Regions from separate parts of the Homo sapiens genome. Here all the other regions are linked to region 3. The links are contacts of gene promoters, found by promoter capture Hi-C in blood cells and fetal thymus (Javierre and others, 2016). All regions are on one chromosome and are shown on one strand. Each heading gives the region's core, a stretch centred on a gene start or on the middle of the fragment in contact. The rest is flanking DNA. Distances are from core to core; before and after follow the strand shown.

Region 1 (3,028 bases), core at 178-2,677, 350 kb after region 3:
CCTAATTTCTCTCCAGCTCATTGATTCCTCCCCATCCATTGTTCCACTGACCTACGGCAGAACTTGGGCTTGGGGCAGAACAGAAGGTAGCAGAAGCTTCCATGATGCTGGAGCTCCCAGAACATATTCTGGTCTTTTTCTGGTCAGAAGCTGAGTGGCATCCAGAATGTTTCCTGCACTTTACCTCCTGCCCTGGCCTGGGCTTCTGGCAAGCAGAAGTCACCCCTCCTCACTGCTTCTCATTGCCCCTCATTGAGAGAGAGAGAAGACAGGAGAGAGGGAAAGGGTGGGGTGTGTGTGTGTCAGGGAATTAACCGAGGTTTAACATTTCCTCAAAGATGTACAAGCATGAGAAGGCAAAAGGAGTTACTAGAGGCCACACCTGCTTCTCTGGATCTCAAGAACTGGAGAAAATTTCATCCCTGGTCCCATTCCTTAACCCACTTTACCCTACCCCCAACCTGTTCCCCACCAAAAAAAAAAGTGTCAGTAAAAAAAAAAAGTCAATTCCTGTTTGGGCCCATTTATTGTTTATTTTGAATAGGTAATACAGTCACATGGTTCAAAATTCAAAATGTACAAAAGGGTGTAAGTGTTAAGACCCTTCCCTCTCCTGTCCTCAACCTACTGGTTCCCCTCCCAAAAGTAATCAGTGTTACCCATTTATTCTGAATAGGCATACATAAGCAATTATGTGTTTATATTCTACTCCTTTCTGAAACACAAATGGGAAGTGCGCTATACACATTTCTGTGGCTTGCCTTTTTCACCTGAAGATTATTACATATTAGTATATAAAGACATACAATTATTTTTTAGCTGCATACTATTGTATTGTAAGGCTGTATCAGAATTGATTTAACCAGTCCTTTAGAGAAAAAAGTTTCTGTTGTTTCTCATCTCTTGCTATTTCTTTGTCCCCATCCCCAATCCAGACCTCAGGAGGGACAGCAGTGATGGGAATGGAGCCCAAGCCTGGACCAGGCCAGGCCCTGCCCCACCCAGGCCAGGCCCCTCCCCACTAGGCCAGACCCCCACCTCACCCAGGGCCCAGCTCATTCGCATGCCTGAATGTGATTGGACAGCCCCTCCTGGCTGGGTGGCTGGAGTTGTAGGGGCTTTGGCTTCTCATCTTTGATGCCCACCCTTTGTTTCCACTCCAGCCTCCCAAACAGGCTGTTGCAGAATACAGAGCCCTGGTACAAAATGGCCATTCTTCATTATCATTGCACCCCCAAATCACTTGAAATGCTAACTTGAGCTGCTGCTGTCACGATGACCATCCTCCTCTATAGAGAGCATGAGGCAGGCAGACACAAATGCACAGAAGCAGCTGTCCTGAAACACACCCAGCCCCAGGACAGGGGTAGGAGCAACTCCTACTCCCAATAAGCAACAGACACAAGGGAACGACACACAGGGATTGGCCACTCTGATTAGGGGTCCCGTGACCTTGAGACTTCCATAGGGCTGGAGAGGAGACGGAACTTGACTGAAAACTGAGGGCTGGGGGAGTACCAGGGGCTGGGACATAGGGATATCCCCTCAGGATTCGGGAGAAATTGCAGGATAGAAGAGAAGGCAGGAACAGGAGGAGGAGGAGGAAGTAGGTGAGAGAGAGGAAGACGAGAAGGAAAGGACCTGGATGAGAGGGAATGTGAGCAGAAGCATCCTTTCCAGCTCAGCTATGGACTTGCAGGACTGGCAACCCTACTCTGGGGTCTCCAGGGAATAGCCCCCTTTTAGAGTCCTTGGAGGTGGCCTAAAAAGATTCGGGAAAGCCAGACAGCAACAAAGGGAACCATCTAGGGAAGCCCTCGGCCACGGCTCCAGGCTGGGCCATGCCTGGCCTCTGTGGATGAGAACTCAGTACAGCTGGCATCAACAAGGTTCAGTGTCCCCTGTGTCAGGCATCACAGGGTCAGGAGGCTCCTGGCTCAGAGGCGGATGCGAGGGAGGGTAGTGGAAGAAAGAGAGTCCTGGCACAGGAAAGAGGGAACCAGGCTGCCGGCCCAGTGCCCAGCTGCTCCCCATCCCTCACACCCTGGCCCTGGAGCCCTTGGCCACATGCCCCATCCCAGGACCGCCTAGTTGTGAGAGAAGCCCCCGTGGGAGAAGGCAGGGAGGTCGGGGGCACAGGCAGCAGCCTGGGGCAGGCAAGCTAGGGGGTTGACCTCGCAGGCCCCAGCATCCTGGTCCCCTCGGAAGTAGATGGAGTCGGCAGAGTAGAAGGAGGGGTCTTCGTCAAAGAAGTTATAGGGTCGGAGGAAGAAGCCCACGCCGTTCCCCACAGTCACTGTGTTAGGAATGTCCTCTGCATGTGGGATATGCAGAAAACCAGCTGTCACCCAGGCCACCAAATCCTAGCAGGGGAGAAGAAAGAGGATCACGAGGTCTGGCTTTGCTGAGGACATGCCCTGGTAGGGATTCAGCTCACCAGCCCAAGGATCATGAGTCTTTAAACATTTTTTCCTGCTGGGTAGGAGTCAAAGCATAAGTAGTCCATTTCATATTAGGAACACCTGCTTCCCTGTCCCTGGCTTGCAGCCTCCATCTCTGACATTTCCCATCATATCGCCCATTGCCTATCTACCCCCAGAGGGTGACACCCACAGGCTACTTCAGCTCCTCTTCCCCTAACTCTCCAAGAGTTCCCCACAACTGAGGAAAGAAGGGTGGAGGAAAAAGAACCAGCGCTTGGGAAGCAGAACCAGGCCAACATTGTGAAATTCATCAAGTCAGGAATGGGAGAAGCTTCAGATACAGGAGATGTCATTTTCCCTGGTAACTTCCATCCCTCCTGAGTCCTGGAGCCTGGAAAGGACTCAGTCCATGAAACTGGAACTAAGAGGGCTCTAAGATCTCAAGGACAGGCCCAGGGCCTCACTCAGTGTCTGCATATGGACACCCAGCTCAGGAAGGTTCCCTCAAAGGATAATGATCAGATATACTGAAGTGCAGAAGGCAGGAATCAGCACCACCCCTGAGAAGTGCAGGTGGTTTTCAGGGACCCTCCCAAGAGAAAGCA
Region 2 (3,162 bases), core at 1-2,500, 390 kb after region 3:
GTGCCAACAGCTTCACTCTGATTGGGGAGGCATCTGATGGCGGCACCATGGAGAACCTCAGCCGAAGACTGAAGGCAAGTCGGCCCCATTCCGGTGGCAAGCAGTAGGCCTGGCTGGGAGAGTGGGTAATTGAGCAGGAAGCATGGGGGAGGCCCTACCCTGACTCTCCCACACTTCCAGGTCACTGGGGACCTTTTTGACATCATGTCGGGCCAGACAGATGTGGATCACCCACTCTGTGAGGAATGCACAGATACTCTTTTAGACCAGCTGGACACTCAGCTCAACGTCACTGAAAATGAGTGTCAGAACTACAAGTGAGTGTCTCCAGAGCCAGGGCTCAGAGCTGTTACTGCTCTGAGACTGCTTGGCCCTTACCCAAGAGCCGTACTCCACTCAGGCAAATGGAGCTCTAGTAAGTATAGTCTGCCTGTGTCTTTGGCAGACGCTGTTTGGAGATCTTAGAGCAAATGAATGAGGATGACAGTGAACAGTTACAGATGGAGCTAAAGGAGCTGGCACTAGAGGAGGAGAGGCTGATCCAGGAGCTGGAAGACGTGGAAAAGAACCGCAAGATAGTGGCAGAAAATCTCGAGAAGGTCCAGGCTGAGGCTGAGAGACTGGATCAGGAGGAAGCTCAGTGAGTGCTCACCCTGTTCTATCTTCTCACACTCGAGGCTCCAGGAGAGGAAATGGCTTCCAGCTGAATGTGTCTGAATAGTTTGTAAACTAGTCAGCTGTCAGTCAGCAGCATGCCTGCCCCAGATCCTGCATATTGCTTCCATGCCCTTTTTCTAGAGGTTTGTTGGGAGAGTTACCTATGAAGAGTCAGCATGATTAAGTGAAAAAAGTATGTTGGTTAAATAGTGCAGAAACCAGAGCTCCAGTCTTGGCTCTGTCCTGTAGGGAATGGGCTCATTTGGATGAATCAGCCACTTTCTAGCCATCCTTAGCTGAAAAGATGAGCTAATTAGCCTACATTTGTTCCCTCCAAGCTTAAACATTTCATGGGGGCCAGGTATGGTCGTTCATATCTGTAATTCCAGCACTTTGGGAGGCCAAGGCAGAAGGATCACTTAAAGCCAGGATTTAAGGCCATCTGGGGCAATATCAAGTGAGACCCCATCTCTACAAAAATGAAAATTAAAAAAAAATTAGGCTGCTGTGGTAGACCTGTAGTCCTAGCAACTACTTAGGAGGCTGAAGTGGAGGATAACTTGAGCCCAGGAGTTTGAGGTTACAGTGTGCTGTGATCACACCTCTGCACTCCAGCTTGGGCAACAGAGTTGAGACCCTGTCTCAAAAAATAAAAACATTATAGATGTCCTTGACCTGAGAGAACCCTCTCTCTAGTGGAGGACACACAGTGTCCATACTAACTGAAGTTGTGGAAATGAAGGATAGAGAAAAGTCCATTTTTTTCACACAGTAGTATAACAAGTTTCACTGGAAGTGGGGTATAGTAACTATTTAAAGGACAGTAAGTGTATAGAAATGAAGCTTTAGAAGGCCAATTATGGCCAGTTCATGGAAGAAGCCACTGTTTTTTTGTTTTTTTTTTTTTTAGAAACAGAGTCTTACTCTGTCATCCAGGCTGGAGTGCAGTGGTGCAGTCATGACTCACTGCGGCCTTGACTTCCTACACCTAAGCAATCCTCCCGCCTCAGCCTCCCAAGTAGCTGGAACTACAGGCGCGCAACACCATACCTGGCTAATTTTTGTATTTTTTATAGAGATGGAGTTTCCCCATGTTGCCCAGGCTGGTCTTGAACTCTTGAGCTCAAGTGATCCACCTGCCTCAGCCTCCCAAAGTGCTGGGTTTACAGGCATAAGCCACCATGGCCAGCTGGAAAAAGCCACTGTTTTTTGTTTTTGATTTTGGTTTTTTTTTGAGACAGAGTCTCACTCTGTTGCCTAGGCTGGAGTGCAGTGGCATGATCTCAGTTGTCTGCAACCTCCACCTCCCAGGTTCAAGCGATTCTCCTACCTCAGCCTCCCAAGTAGCTGGGACTACAGGCGTGCGCCACCACGCCTGGCTAATTTTATTTTTTTAGTAGAGACGGAATTTCACCATGTTGGCCAGGCTGGCATCTAACTCCTGACCTCAGGTGATCTGCCCACCTCAGCCTCCCAAAGTGCTGGGATTACAGGTGTGAGCCACTGCACCCGGCCCAGAAGAAGCAGAAGCCACTCTTTTTTTTTTTTTTTTTTGAGACAGAGTCTCGGCTCTGTTGCCCAGTCTGGAGTACAGTGGTGTGATAGCTCACTGCAACCTCTGCCTCCTGGGTTGAAGCAATTCTGCCACTTCAGCCTCCCAAGTAGCTGGGACTACAGGTGTGCACCACCACGCCTGGCTAATTTTTGTATTTTTAGTAGAGACAGGGTTTCACCACATTGGCCGGACTGCTCTCGAACTCCTGACCTCAAGTTATCCACCCGTCTTGGCCTCCCAAAGTGCTGGGATTACAGGTGTGAGCCACCACGCCTGGCCCCAAGAAGCCACTCCTAACCCATTCACCTCACTTCTGAAAAAGATCAGAAATAAGAGGTTTTTTGCCCTGGTTTGGGAGAATTCTTTTTTCCTCCACCTTTTTGCATATGGGCAGCTGGAATTTGAGACATTTCTGTTCCTTCCAGGCAAAACAGCTAGGACATACATGTTCCTCAGAATGGGATCTATGCCAAATATAAAAGATGCGAGAGCTAGATGTAACGATGATCACTAAAGAATCGTTCATAGTGTGGTGAGAGAGAAACTTTAGCCCCCAAGCTAACAGCCTTCAATGGCCCCCTTGGCTGCTCACAGGTATCAGAGAGAATACAGTGAATTTAAACGACAGCAGCTGGAGCTGGATGATGAGCTGAAGAGTGTTGAAAACCAGATGCGTTATGCCCAGACGCAGCTGGATAAGCTGAAGAAAACCAACGTCTTTAATGCAACCTTCCACATCTGGTAATGAGAGCTAGGGGATGAGGAGCACTGCACATATCTAGACCTTAGCTGTTGACCACTAAGCCTGGGTGCCCACTTCCCACAAAAGAGGGACTGTAGGTTATCTTCACCCAACTAGGTTTCTTTCATTCATAGTGATGGGATAGGCACAGTAGGGATTGGAATTCTAGAGCTTGGTGACATCCGCCCTTCTAAAGAAAGGAAAAGGC
Region 3 (3,002 bases), core at 335-2,834:
GGAGAATACAACCAGGGAAGGAGGGCAGGTTTTTGCAGGGAACCCAAGGATAGTTAAGTATCTCCCTGGCCAGCCTGAGACTGGGAGGTCAAGAGCTGGGAGCAGATCTAACCCCATCCAAGGAGACTCAGAGGGGCTGCCCCAGGCCAACAGGCTAAGAACTTTCCCTGGATTCCAGGCTATTTCCAGAGCCTTGGGCCACTCACCTTGGGGAATCTTGCCACTGCCCTGGCAGGTGGGACAAGTCACGAAGCTGGCATCAGCAGTTCCTTCACAAGGCACACAGGAACAAAAAGACTTGCTGCTACCGGTGCTGGAGTAGTTGACAGCCTTGCTGCCAATGGCTGGTTTGGAGGACAGGATTGACTTGTTCTCATCCTCCCGCCAAGAGCCCAGCTGGGAAAACGTCTTACCCATTCTTCAGGGGCGGGGGTTTCACTAATGAGAAAAGACCAAAGTTCAGTGCTAAGCTTGTTAGCACTGACGCCAGATGTAATTTTGGTTTGAAGTTCTCAAGACTGGCAAGGAGCTTCACCACAGTTTAAGCAAGCTCAAGCCTAAGGAAGATAGGATGTGAAAAACTGGGTGGTCACATGGGACTCTCAGAAGTCTCAATGCATTTCGACTCCTTTCATTATTTTAAAAGAGACCAATCTGCCTACAAAAGGGAAAACAAAAGAAAAGCAGAAGTTACTTCACTTTAAGGAACTTCCATAAGTGATTGTCAGAGCATTTAATTTTTCTCTGGAAAAGTTGCTGAGCTGTCATTCAGTTTAAGGGAAGGAAGTTGGATAGGGCAGAAAAGAGATTCTTTGAATCAAGGAGAGAGGAGGCCAGACTGGTCACAGGTGTGGTTAAGACCCCTATCTAAAGAAGCCCTGGGAGAAAGCAGACACCTCACTGCTTTCTGAGGCGGGGTAAGAAAGCCTGAGGAGGGTCATAGTGATACCAGGGTCTGTCTTTCACTAGGAAAACTCAAGGCTAAATCTGGACTCTGTGTGACAGAACGAGGCCGGCAAGTGAGCCACACAGATCTTTCTGGGCTAAAATATAGGGATGCTCACCTTGTTCAGGTCTGGGATCCCAGGCTCCTCAGCCGCACGAGGGCGAGACTTCTGGAGTGCGTCTTTGGGGAGAAGGGCCTCTAAGGGCAGAGTGGGCTGGGCTGGGCTGAGCTGAGCTGGGCGGTGGTGGGGAGAAGCACCGCCTGGGGCCGGCAACCGGCCGGAGTCCTAGGGGAACGAATGTGCCGCACTGGAGAGTGGGGATAGTAAGGACGCTGACCTCCCCGAAGGGCCAAGCCGATTCCTGGGCTACATGGGGGCTCTGCCATGGGCCGACCGGGTGGAAGCGGACGGAGAAGGTGTGACTTCATTAAGGGAGGATTTCAAGTCCCACCACACACCCCTAGAGGCCGTTAGTCAAGCTTGGTACCCGTGCGGGGGGCGCCTGTGTGTTGGGCGAGGAGGCGGCAACAGGAGGTGTCTTGACCTCCGAAAGGTAAAGTAGGTATAAAGGGTCTAGGGAGGGCCTTACCCGCGGACGACTGCAGCGACAGAAACGGAAGAGAGTGGAATCGAAAATGCGGGAGCGAACACTCCCCTCAAGCTTTGACTCAGTGCCCAGGGAAGTCCCGCCCCAGCCCCTAAGGGCCCACCCCCCCGTCCCCCGGTCCGCCCCTTCGCCACGCAGCAGCCTGAGACGCTGCCAGCTCTTCAAACGTTACCCGAGGGCCCGGACGCTGCTTCCGCAAGGACTAGCCAGTCCGGGTAGGAATTTCCAAGAACATTTATTTCACCATTCTTTAGGTGGTTATGTACAAGTACATACATAACCAGGAGAGCAACCCGGGCCCTCCTGGCCCTCGATTATAAAACTCCGATGGTCAAGACAGGTCCCACCCATCAACCCAATTACACCCTGCCGCTCCACCTTCTACCCGGAAGCCCCGATTAAAACGTTTTAAATAATGAACGGCCTGGCTGGCTTGCAGTTTGAATCCTGGTTTATTTAAGTAGCATTCAGGAGTTATACTGTAAATAAACATCATTATGGCTAATGACTAATTAAAATCACCATTCATTACAAATACCAACCAGGTTAGATAATACTATTAACTATCTTTTCCCCTTCGGTCTGGGGTTCATATTCTTCCTTTTCTGGAAGTCATTTTCATGGATAAAATATTTAGCATTTTTTGTTACCTCTTCCTTCACCAACTGTACTCAACACACTTCTGTAAACAGAGTGAGAACCTGGGTTCATGGACAAGCTCTTTTCCACTTATCTTCGGGTTAAACCAAAACTTTTTCAGCAACTTTGCCCCTGTCCAAGTTTTGCAGAACACCAGCTGCCTCTTCCTGTTCTAGGCATTCTAGGGCTAGATACCTGTGAACGGACTTCAAGCATTAAAGAAGTCATCAGCATTTCCTATACCTCACACACACTCATTTGCCCACCCTGAACTTCACTGACATTAATTTAGGAGCCTGCCTTTTGCCTTTCACATGTTTCTATTTCCCCCACTGTACTGTAAAATAAGATCTGCCCTGACATTAAGAAAAAAGGCAACTGTTAAATTTACTTTTCCCTTTAAATAACGGGATTTTTTCCTTTTCTATAAGATTAGCAAAATATTTCACAATACCTATATTTTTTCCCTTAAATAAAAATGTATGCAAAATTACTATAATAGACATTGCTCAATAGGTGCTGGTAGGTTTATCAGCACACTCTTCCTCCTTTCATTGAAATGCGGAGATTCCCTTGAAGTTGGATACTCTTGAATGCACCATGGAGTCTTTAGAAAGCAACGGTGCCAATTATTAAGTATTGCAGGAAAATTACTTTCTCCTTGAGAGAGGAAGAGTAACAACATTTCTATCATGCTCTGGGTGTTATTTCAATGCCAAATAACTATGAAGCTTGAGGTGGATTACAGAAATTATGAGAATAAGAATTATGAGAATAATTCTTAAAAACAACTTCCGAGGTTAATGTCT

What was found. Contacts are between HindIII fragments. The CHiCAGO score rates a contact against its expected background, and 5 or more counts as called.
Region 1: a contact is called between a fragment that was not itself captured here and the fragment with the promoter of TMEM106A in region 3, in 1 of 17 cell types (naive B cells). The highest score is 5.2, in naive B cells.
Region 2: a fragment that was not itself captured here is called in contact with the fragment with the promoter of TMEM106A in region 3 in 2 of 17 cell types (total B cells and M1 macrophages); the score reaches 5.3 in total B cells.

The regions. Positions count from the first base shown.
Region 1 is chr17:42,855,610-42,858,637 of GRCh38, reverse strand. AOC3 (amine oxidase copper containing 3) reads right to left here. Exons shown (of 4, transcript NM_003734.4): 4 at 514-2,363. The coding sequence ends at 2,088. Among named protein-coding and RNA genes, the nearest start is that of AOC3, 5.9 kb to the right of the region's middle. The HindIII fragment of the contact is 2,658 bases long and covers 99-2,756 here.
Region 2 is chr17:42,815,699-42,818,860 of GRCh38, reverse strand. It overlaps BECN1 (beclin 1), which reads left to right. Exons shown (of 12, transcript NM_001313998.2): 5 at 1-74; 6 at 181-317; 7 at 446-640; 8 at 2,807-2,953. Among named protein-coding and RNA genes, the nearest start is that of MIR6781, 6.7 kb to the left of the region's middle. RefSeq lists an enhancer at 1-1,081. The HindIII fragment of the contact is 505 bases long and covers 998-1,502 here.
Region 3 is chr17:43,210,457-43,213,458 of GRCh38, reverse strand. TMEM106A (transmembrane protein 106A) reads right to left here and starts at 1,584. Exons shown (of 9, transcript NM_145041.4): 1 at 1,537-1,584; 2 at 1,065-1,232; 3 at 207-438. The coding sequence starts at 417. NBR1 (NBR1 autophagy cargo receptor) reads right to left here. Exons shown (of 21, transcript NM_005899.5): 21 at 1,771-3,002. The HindIII fragment of the contact is 182 bases long and covers 1,429-1,610 here.